Linked DNA regions of Homo sapiens: region 1 is linked to region 2. The links are contacts of gene promoters, found by promoter capture Hi-C in human tissues and cell types (Jung and others, 2019). All regions are on one chromosome and are shown on one strand. Each heading gives the region's core, a stretch centred on a gene start or on the middle of the fragment in contact. The rest is flanking DNA. Distances are from core to core; before and after follow the strand shown. Region 1 overlaps DZIP1L (DAZ interacting zinc finger protein 1 like). Region 2 holds the start of A4GNT (alpha-1,4-N-acetylglucosaminyltransferase).

Region 1 (5,422 bases), core at 171-2,670, 58 kb before region 2:
CTGCAAGACCTGAAGATGGATCACATCACAGGACTCTTTGCAGACACTCCCCAGTACCAGCCTGTAACTCTACTGGGTGGCTAGACCCAGAAGATCAAAAACAATCACTACAGTTCAGCTCTCAGGAAGCCCCATTCCTAGGGGAAGGGGGAGAGCACTACATCAAGGGAGCACCCCATGGGACAGAAGCATCTGAACAGCAGCTCTTGAATCCCAGATCTTCCCTCTAACATAGTCTACCCAAATGAGAAGGAGCCAGAAAAACAATTCTGGTAATATGACAAGACAAGGTTCTTTAACACCCACAAAAATCATACCAGCTCACCAGCAATGGATCCAAACCAAGACGAATCTCTGAATTGCCAGAAAAAGAATTCAGAAGGTCAATTATTAAGCTAATCAAGGAGGGACCAAAGAAAGGTGAAGCCCACCTTAAAGAAACAAAAAATGTTATACAAGAGATGAAAGGAAAATTTTTTAGTGAAATAGCATAAATAAAAAGTTATCACAACTTCTGGAAATCAAAAACACACTTAGAGAAATGCAAAATACACTGAAAAGTCTCAGCAATAGAATCAAACAAGCAGAAGAAAGAACTTCAGAGCTCAAAGACAAGGCTTTCGAATTAACACAATCCATAGAAGACAAAAAAGAATTTTAAAAAAATGAACAAAGTCTCCAAGAAGCTTGGGACCATGTTAAACATCCAAACCTAAGAATAATTGTTATTCCCAAGGAAGAAGAGAAATCTAAAAGCTTGAAAACATCTTCGAGGGAATAATTGAGGAAAACTTCCCCAGCCTTACTAGAGACCTAGGCATCCAAATACAAGAAGCTCAAAGAACACCTGAGAAATTCATTGCAAAAAGATCATCACCTAAGCACATAGTCAACCGGTTATCTAAAGTCAAGATGAAGGAAAGAATCATAAGAGCTGTGAGGCAAAAGCACCAGGTAACCTATAAAGGAACACCTCTCAGATTAACAGCAGATTTCTCAGCAGAAACCCTACAAGCTAGAAGGGATTGGGGTCCTATTCTTTAGCTTCCTTAAACAAAACAATTATCAGCCAAGAATTTTGTATCCAGTGAAACTAAGCTTCATAAATGAAAGAAAGATACAGTCTTTTCCAGACAAACAAATGCTGAGAGAATCCGCCACTACCAAGCCAGCACTACAAGAACTGCTAAAAGGATCTCTAAATCTTCTTTTTTAATTTATTTTTTTATTATACTTTAAGTTTTAGGGTACATGTGCACAACATGCAGGTTTGTTACACATGTATACAGAAACAAATCCATGAAATACAACAAAACAGAACCTCCTTAAAGCATAAATCTCATAGGACCTATACAACAATAATACACGAAAAAAAAAAAAGGCAAGGTATTCAGGCAACAAATAGCACAATGAATAGAATAGTACCTCACCTCTCAATACTAACATTGAATGTAAATGGCCTAAATATTCCACTTAAAAGATACAGAATGGCAGAATGGATATGAATTCACCAACCAAGTTTCTGCTGTCTTCAGAAGACTCACCTAAACTCACATTAGGACTCACACAAACTTAAGGTAAAGGGGCGGAAAAAAAACATTCCATGCAAATGGATACCAAAAGCGAGCAGGAGTAGCTATTCTTATAGCAGACAAAACAAACTTTAAAGCAACAGCAGTTAAAAAAGACAAACAGGGACATTACATAATGATAAAAGGACTAGTCTAACAGGAAAATATCATAATTCTAAATATATATGCACCTAACACTGGAGTTTCCAAATTTATAATACAATTGCTACTAGACCGAAGAAATGAGATAGACAGCAACACAATAATAGTGGGGGATTTCAAGACTGCACTGACAGTACTAGACAGGTCATCAAGACAGAAAGTCAACAAAGAAACAATAGACTTAAACTATAACCTAGAACAAATAGACTTAACAGATATTTACAGAACATTCTACCCAACAACTGCAGAATATATATTCTATTCATCAGCACATGGAACATTCTCCAAGATAGACCAGATGATAGGCCACAAAACAAGTCTCAGTAAACTTAAGAAAATCGAAATTATATCAAGCACTCTCTCAGATCACAGTGGAATAAAATTGGAAATCAACTCCAAAAGAAACCCTCAAAACCATGCAAATACATGGAAATTAAATAACCTGTTCCTGAATAATCGTTGGGTCAACAACGAAATCAAGATGGAAACTTAAAAGTTCTTTGACTGAACGATAATAGTGACACAACCTATCAAAACCTCTGGGATACAGCAAGAGCAGTGCTAAGAGGAAAGTTCATGGCATTAAATGCTTACATCAAAAAGTCTGCGGCCTGGCGCGGTGGCTCACGCCTGTAATCTCAGCACCTTGGGAGGCCGAGGTGGGTGGATCAGGAATTCGAGACCATCCTGGCAAACATGGTGAAACCCCGTCTCTACTGGGTGGGGTGGCACGTGCCTGTAATCCCAGCTACTCAGGAAGCTAAGGCAGGAAAATCCCTTGAACCAGGGAGTCGGAGGTTGCAGTGAGCCGAGATCGCACCACTGCACTCCAGCATGGTGACAGAGCGAGATTCGTCTCAAAAAAAAAGGCTGAAAGAGCACAAATAGATAATCTAAGGTCACACCTCATGGAACTGGAGAAACAAGAATAATCCAAACCCAAGGAGACAATGGATCAGGACGAGTGGCTGAGGAGTGGGCCCAGAAGCCTTGGGTAGCAGCACTGGAGGTCCTAAGGACTCCAGACTGTCCTTAAATGAGGAGGGAGCTTCCCAGAGTGGGGATGGTCAGCATCACTAATTACCAGGAAAATGCAAATCAAAACCACAATGTGATACCACCTCACCCCTACAAGAATGGCCATAATCAAAAAATCAAAAATTAATAGACGTTGACATGGATGTGGTGAAAAGGGAACACTTTTACACTGTTGGTGGGAATGTAAACTAGTACAACCACTATGGAAAAGTGTGGAGATTCCTTAAAGAGCTAAAAGGAGATCTACCATTTGATCCAGCAATCCCACTACTGCGTATCTACACTGAGGAAAAGAAGTCATTACATGAAAAAGATACTTACACATGCATGTTTATAGCAGCACAATTTGCAATTGCAAAAATGTGGAACCAGCCTAAATGCCCATCAATCAATGAGTGGATAAAGAAACTGATATATATACATACCATGGAATACTACTCAGCCCTAAAAAGGAACAAAATGATGGCATTTGCTGCAACCTGGATGGAATTGGAGACTATTATTCTAAGTGAACTCAGGAATGGAAAACCAAACATCGTATGTTCTCACTCCTATGTGGGAGCTAAGCTCTGAGGACACAAAGGCATAAGAATGGTACATTGGACTTTGGGGATTTGGGGGAAAGGGCATGGGGGTGGAGAGGGATAAAAGGCTACACACTGGGTACAGTGTATACTGTTCACGTGATGTGTGCACCAAAATCTCAGAAATCACCACCAAAGAACTTATTCATGTAACCAAACACCACCTGTTCCCCAAAAACCCACTGAAATAAAAAATTAAATTTCAGATATTTTATCTGAAAATAAAATATACATACATACATGTATATACATACATACATGTAACTGCTAAAAAACTATAGGAAAATATAAGTTATTACTTCTCAAAAAAAAAAACAAATAATTGGTGTCAGACACAGCTTTCAGTGATGCCCACACACAGCCACCTGCTGAGTGGACACAGCCACATGTACCACAGATGATGGGCTTGCAGATGGATACTTACCCAAGGGGGGACCTATCCACAGGCCAGATTGAGCCAATTAAATTCCCTCTAGCAAAAAATTTAGAGACACAGAGGGAAGTAACCAATGAGTGGAGAACACTGAGCAATCAGGACTCAGGGTAGTATCGCCAGCCAAATAGGGCCAGTCTTGAGAAGCTGCTGGAGAAACAGAGGAAAGATATCACACTGCCGCTGTGAAGTGAGAAAGGCGTGCAGATGCCAGAGGAGCCCGGGCTGCCACAAGTGAGATGAATGAGCTCACAATGCAAAGAACAATCGATCATTTGTCTGTCTGAGAACACTTAGTGTCTAAATCGTAGGTATCAGCCCTTAAAACGATGGCCCTGAAACTCACCTTCCTTATCCCCATGCTTTCGAGCTTCTCTTCCAGGGTGTCCTCCAGGATTGGTCTGAAGTGCTTCAGCAAAGTGGGGTTACGCCTCAGAGCTGCCAGCACCTTGTGCTGTTCATCCTGGGAGTCCTCCATCTCTGTAGCATGAGACATTCACCCAGATCAGCCTGGGCACCTGAGTTCTCCATTCCCAGAGCCCTACTGCACCTGCCGAGCCCTCACACTGCCAGGAATCCTGGTCGGTTAACTCAGGACTTGGAGATTGCACTTGAGCCCTTAAAGCAGCTTGCTCTCTGGGCTCCCTTCTGATCTCAGATTCCAGGCCCCACTGCTGTGGGTTCCAGCCTAATCCTAGCCCCACCTGATACCCTCATCTCGTTTCCATGCCAGGCTCAATTCTGGTCCAGGTGATAAACTGGTGGACAAGATAGACAGATCGCTGCTCCCTCAAGTTTACTGTCTAAACCGGAGATTCTCCCTCTAACTTTAGCATATATCAGAATCACCTGGGCATGGGTTAAAAATTAATAGTCCCTCACCTCACCCTCCAAAGAGTCTGATTCCATAAGTCTGGGGGAGGACCCTAGAATCTACATTTTAACATACTGAGATGATTCTGATGGAGGTAAGCCACAGACTATACTTTAAGAAATACTGACCTGAGGCTAGCAAAATAAGCAATTACAATTAAATGTGGTAAGTGCTACAAAGGAGCAGTCCAAGGTGAGTCAGGGAAGGCCTCCTACGGTGTTCTTCAGGTTCCATCTGGGGGCCTCTGTGGTAAGACCAGGACCAAGCCCTTTGACTCACTCAGTAGACATTAACTGAACAAGCAGCATGAGTGTAATCAGGCTAGGGCTGGATGCCAAGGACACAGAAGCCCATCTCTCGTCCCCCAAGGACCTCACTCACAATCAAGGGTGGTGAATTTCACTGCTGGCTGCGAGTTGGAATCACCCCAGGCTGATTCCATCAGAATCTCTCAAGGTGGACCCCAACGCTTGATATTTATATTTTAAATTCTCTAGATATTCTAATAAACAGCGAAGCCTGAGAAACAATGATTCTAGGACAATGGTCCTTAACTGTGAGCCAAAGCATCAGCATTACCTGGTAACTTGTGAGATGCAGATTCTCAGCTCCCACTCCAAATCTACTGCATCAAAAATTCTACAGGTGGAACCCAAAAATCTGGGTTATAATAACTCCTCCCCTACCACCCATTCACCTCTGACCCTGCGTGATTCTGCTCAATAAAGTTTACACCAGGACATGAGCCTCAACCTTGTCT
Region 2 (6,210 bases), core at 923-3,422:
AAAATTATAGTTAAAGCCTGCATAATGGAATCATTGAGTTGTTGTACTATAATTTCTTTAAGCAACCTGATTTCAGCTCCTCTATAAGAGAAATATTAGACTGGCACATTATTCCCTTATTCTGGTTCACTACAAACTTGGGGATTACAAAATTCCTCTAAGCTCCAGGAGTTTCTCAATCATATCTTAATACAACCCAATCTCATATCGCAGCATTTCATCCATCCTTCATGAATTTTCTACTTACATCATTTTCATGTTAAATATTGCCTGGTTTCCACTTTAGGTGAAAAAAAAAATAAAGTTTAACATAAGTGGATTTAAAACTGTAGTGAAAAATAAGTGTCCTATACACCTAGAAAAGATATAAAAACTCATTCAGTTAAGAATAGTCTCCAAAGTAACCAAGATCCTAAAAGAAATAAGGCTAGAAGCAAAAGACAGCAGAATAAAGATGCACCTAATGTAAGTCTTCCCTCTTTATTTGAATCAGTTCTCAACATGGTAAAAAGAGGGCCAAATGAGAGTCAACCCAAATGTGGGTTCTATTCCCATCTCCGACCTGAGTCCTTACCCTCAGTTTACCCATATATACAATTCGTTGACATTTTAAGTTTCCCTAAACACTTACTTGATTGTACCATGAAAACAATGGTGTGTCTTCAAGCAGCCTTTTCATATCCAAAGGGAAGAGGAAAACGTTGTCTATTGCTGACAGGAAGGAAAAAGCTGGGTATGTGGAGTTTGAGGGCATCGGTGTGGAATCAGTAAGACCCTTCATAAAGAACACCACAGGCCACTCAGGATAAATCTTGGCAGCAGACTCTACGGAACAGGAGACCAAATGGGGTGGCTCCATTCTCTCTGAGGTCTCTAGAAACACAATGCCACGTCTGTGGCTCAGGAGGGCTTCCAGCCCCTGGTGGGACTTGAAAGAAGGCAAACAGAAGAGGCAGCTGGACTTCAGGGTGAACTGGTAGAGGAAGCCACAGACAAGCAGCAAGGTGACTGACAGGGAGAGCTGGAGCTCCTTCCGCATGTCCTCTTCTCTGTGCCAGCCTGCTCCTTTAAATCAACACAATTAATTAAAAATCACAGCTGCAAAACCTGACAAAGATAGCACACAAGAAAATGATACATGAATATCATTTAAAAACTTAAATTTTAAATATCCTAAATAAAATATGATGAAATCAAGTCCAGCAATATTAAAAAAAAAATGCAGCCAGGCATGGTGGCATATGCCTGTAGTCCCAACTACTAGGGAGGCTGAGGCAGGAGGATCCCCTGAGTCCAAGAGTTCAAGACTAGCTTGGGCAGCATAGTGAAAATCATCACAAAAATTTAAAAAAAAAGAAAAAGAAAAAGACAAGAAATATGTGAGAAAGAAAAATGCATCATAACCAATCAGGATTTATCTTAGATTTTAAAATGATTTGACATTAAAAATAATTAGTTAATAGGGAAAACTATTGATAAAATGCATTATCTTAACAGTCTAAAGAAGAAAAGCCATATGATCATTTTGGCTCAAGAGATGCCAAGAATGTGACTAACTTTAAGATCCATTCACAATTTTTTTAAAGTACAAGGAAACTTTCTTAAGCTGATTTTAAACAATGTCTACCAGAACATATAGCAATTATCATACTTAATATGAAACATTTGAAACATCCCATTAAGATCAGGAATATGATATGAATGTCCATTGTCATTGTCACTGACATCATTGGTTACAATCTGATAATTGTAACCAATGCAATAAAACAAGAGAAATGAATTTCTACTACGAATATTAAAAGAGGCAAAAGTATCTCTAGGTTCAGAAAACATAACTGAAAAACTAATAGAACTAAGAAAAAAAATTAACAAAGGAAGCAAACTGAAGGCTAAAGAGTTAAATAAATTGCCAAGATCACACGATTAGCAAGTAGCAGAGCTGTGACTGTAACTTGCATCCACCTGCCACCAAAGTCCAGGCTCTGAACCGTTACCTGCAGTGCTTTCCTCACCAAAAATGTTAGCTCTAACCAAGGAGAACACAGATCTCACGTCTTGGCAGGTCTATCTTTCAAATTACATATAACCCTTTTAGAAAATACAAAACAGTGAATCAGAGCCTAACTTCTAGCTGCAAATGCAGTTAACCAGTATTTGAGGTCTTAGAAATGACAAGTTCTTCCTGCTACACTTTCTGATAAATCACCACCCAATCTTCCAACTCAACAACACAGGGGTAAGTAAATCATTGGCAGATTGAGACTAAACACAAAAAGTTCCCAGGAAGCTCCTCCCTTTACTAAGTTCTCCCAAACACAGCCACTTGGGAACAAGAGGGGTTTACCAGATTTTTAAGGTGACCCACACACTAATCCTGCCTGTTTGTGGATCTATTATGGGGGTTATAAAGGGATTATTTCACCTGGAGAAAACTGTATCCTGGCATAACCTTGGAGCCAACATATCCTGCACTTGATCAGTTTAGCTTGAATCAAAATTATGGACAGAGACCCTGTAAGGTGGTACAAACTCCCCTTTGCAAGCACAAAGTTTGATTAAAAGGAAAGAGAGCCCATCACCACAAATAAGCAATGAACAAAGCCCTGCAGTCCAAAGGCCCAGTGATCTAGAATGAGAAGTGATTCCCCAGTGTCAGTCACAGTGGCTGCAGGAAGGCTCCTTTTTCCCCAAGGTCCCCCTTATGGGGTATAAGCCTCGTCCCAGTCTCAGGAAGCCAGCTTTGTTGTCCTCCACTGATGTGGCAGTCCCCACATTTCCCAAGGTGTTAGCACTCACCTGTGGCCTATTCTCCACCGCCCCTGAAATGAGCTCTTAGCAATCTTCTTTGGAGCCATCCTCTGCTGAGAGTCACCTGTCTTGGCCATGAGCAGGTATTCACAGTTCCCCCTGGATGCTCTAGTGTGAGCAGGTAGGCCTGCTCCTGAGCAGACTTTAGATTCTAACATAGCAGGTCCTACATGAAGGGAGTTAAAGCTGCCCCACTCATTGATGGCTTCTGGTTTTCTATGTGTCCAAGGACCCCAGAAACAGCTTGTAGGTCTCCACAAACCTCTTCCTTTTGGAGCTGAATTTCTTCTCTGGACCTCATTAATTCTGGGCTCAGAGTGCCTTGGCATCTTTCCAAAGTTCTCTGTAATTGGACAGATTGGTTGTTCTTTCCTATGAAGGGGAGTGGAGATTAGTGCTCCTGCTCCTTGCCCAGGGGTAACTAGAGGACCCCATCTGTGGGAGTGATAACACATTCCTGGGCCTCAGGTGGGTCACATATCTTAGTGCCTCCCAACTGCTAGCCCAGTGGCTAAAACTATTGAACAAGTGGTCAAGGCAGAGATCAGTGATGTAGTTAATGGCCTTTGTCAGGTGAGGATGAATGTGAGCATCAGCAATGCAGTGAAATCCCAAGCACAAAAGTAGGACCTATCTGACCAAGAACCAAGTAGAAAGCATGATGGAAGTAGCACTGAGCTTGGAGTTATGCCTCCAGCCACCACAGGCTGAGGGCACTAGACAAGCCCCTAAACTGCCCAGAGCCTCAACTCCCTTGAAAAGTGCAGAAAATGACCGACCTCAGGCTCACTGTGAGAATGAAAGTTCTCTTTAAACCAAAGAAGTTATTGTCACTTTCTACCAAGGAAAATAGAAGAGAAAAATAGAATTATATCAATATGGATGGTATTTGTACTCCCTGATAACAAACATTAAGTTGTTTTGTTTTGTTCAGATGAGTGAAATCTATTCCCTATTCTAACCTTGTTTTTTTTTTTTTTGTTTTTTTTTGAGACAGAGTCTCCCTCTGTTGCACAGGCTGGAGTGCTGTGGTGTGATCTTGGCTCACTGCAACCTCTGCCTCCCTGGTTCAAGTGATTCTCCTTCCTTGGCCTCCCAAGTAGCTGGGACTACAGGCATGTGCCACCATTCCTAGATAATCTTTGTATTTTTAGTAGAGACAGGGTTTCACCATATTGGCCAGGCTGGTCTCGAACTCCTGACCTCAAGTGATCCGCCCACTTTGGCCTCCCAAAGTGCTGGGATTACAGGCATGAGCCACCGCGCCTGGTCCCCAGTGAACTTTTAAGAGGGAAATCTTCAACCCTGTATAAGAGTTGATGAGATGCGTTCAGAAGCCAGGTCACTGGTACTTGGAGCCTCTGTAGGTTCATAGCCCAAAGTCCTTCCTGTGTCTTTCTGAGAAGGCCTCCTGTCATCTGAGCCACTCTACCTGGAACTTCTCAGGGCCCCCAACATCCATCCTTCAGCATTCCCTTTGGTTTGAGAAACAGAACTACTTTCCCTTCCTTCTGCACCCCTTTCTGCCTTTCCTGGCCTATACCACACTAACTTCTGTCTGTTCAGGCAGGTGTCACAGCAGCAGCTCTTAACCTGGACTTTACAGATCCCTAGAAGCTCCAAGGATGGGCTTCAGGAGACCCTGAACCCTGGCACCATATTTTACATCAGTACCTTAACCCAGGATGTCACTTGTCCATACCTTTTCCTACATATCACCTTCCCTAAGAAATGTCCCTGCTCCCTGACCCTCCTTGACACTAACTCTGCTCAAAATTCTTCTGGATTTCTTCACTACACAATCTCAGGCCTTCTCCAACTAGCCAAGCAACCCCTAGGAACCCCAATGTAGATATCTGAGTAGAGATGTACAAAGAACTACTTGTCTTTGAGCAATGGATGTGTCTGAATACAGCGATGGCAGTCACATATGCATTCAGGTGTTGTCTACTTTCCTAGGAATTTCTGAGTCGTGTGAAGAGTTCTTGCTTCCTCCATTATAATGTAAGCCAGACTTGGTCAATCCAACAGACTATGGAGCCTGGGCAATTGTTGCTGACTGATGAGAACTTAGGAAATGTGAATTGATGTGGCCCCAAATAAATTAACAGGATAAGACAAAACCTCTGAATTCAGCGTTTTTCTATTATACTTGGATGTTTGGAACTAGTGTTAAAAAAAAAAAAAAAAAGGGCAGACCAGGGAGAAAAACCATAGAACTGGAGGAGAAGAGGAGACATTTCCCCAACTCTTCAGCCCTATGGATGACCTCTGATAACCTCAATTGAAAATAGTTCAGTGTTTGGCACTAAACTTCCTCCTTCTACAGGACCCACTGTATTAAGAAGGGGAAGTTAAAATAATTTTTTTAACAATAAATGTTTGTCGAATTGAATTTCACATGAAAAGCACAATGCTTAATTCTATAGCTTCTTTGAACTCAGATTTATTGCAAGAAGGAAATTTTCAACCCAGCAATATTTGTCCTCTTTACTTTGGAGCCTTTGGAACCACAGTTCCTGTTTTAACATATTTGTTAAGCAAGCGGGGCTGATAAACTTGTTAAAGCATTCAGTTATTAACAGGGAAAAACCAATACACAAAGTGATATCTTATCAACAATGCCAATTCCCTTCACCACTGTTCTGAAGTTGGAACAAAGACTGGAATGCTGGGTTTACATGAATGGAGAGGAGATGGCTGGACAGAGGCATTTCACTGCAGACTAAGAACAATCCATAGCATAACACTAGGAAACCCATAGAGGAATAATAAAATAATTGACATGCATTAAGGACTGACATTATCAACATTAAATCCTGAAAAAAGTAATTGTTAAAAAGTATTTTTCACTAAAAATCAATGAGTTAGCACCGGAGTAAAATCTCTTTGTCCCTTAGCAATATTTTAAACTGTTCTGCATTTCCAGGGAAATGAATCTAGCCTTGTGTATCTGGTGATAATGCTCTTTGTTCTCCACTCAGCCACAGCAGTCAAACATGCCCCTGTTTGCAACACTTTACATAGCTATCAATAATTGATTTCCGGGTTTGTTCTGGAAATTATTGTGTTCACACATGTAGTTTCCCCTCTTTGTTAAATTTACTTGCAGATAAAAGAGTAGGTGGGGGATAAGGTCAGGGAGATAAGGGGAAAAAAGTTAATAAATGTTCCCTATAAACCAGTTGTGCCCCAGACACCACTTTCAAAGACTGAAGAACAGGGTCTGCAAGAAGCCTATAGAAAAGAGTGGCACCTTTCTGAGAGCGAGGGGCTATTTGAAGCGACCTTGCTAAGTTCTGTAAGCCGGAGTTTAGTTCCTTTTTCCTGTAAGGAACAGAAATCAGCTTAGGGTCATCTATGCTAAGTGTCCACATGGCACAGGACTTTATAAAGCCTGAG

The links. Contacts are between HindIII fragments. The study calls those that stand out against the background at their distance.
Region 1: a fragment that was not itself captured here is called in contact with the fragment with the promoter of A4GNT in region 2 in 3 of the 25 tissues and cell types used here (adrenal gland, bladder and mesenchymal stem cells).

What each region holds. Positions count from the first base shown.
Region 1 is chr3:138,073,365-138,078,786 of GRCh38, forward strand. DZIP1L (DAZ interacting zinc finger protein 1 like) reads right to left here. Exons shown (of 16, transcript NM_173543.3): 11 at 4,135-4,268. Among named protein-coding and RNA genes, the nearest start is that of DZIP1L, 40 kb to the right of the region's middle. The HindIII fragment of the contact is 3,794 bases long and covers 1-3,317 here.
Region 2 is chr3:138,130,218-138,136,427 of GRCh38, forward strand. A4GNT (alpha-1,4-N-acetylglucosaminyltransferase) reads right to left here and starts at 2,173. Exons shown (of 3, transcript NM_016161.3): 1 at 1,995-2,173; 2 at 632-1,065. The coding sequence starts at 1,039. The HindIII fragment of the contact is 13,843 bases long and covers 1-6,210 here.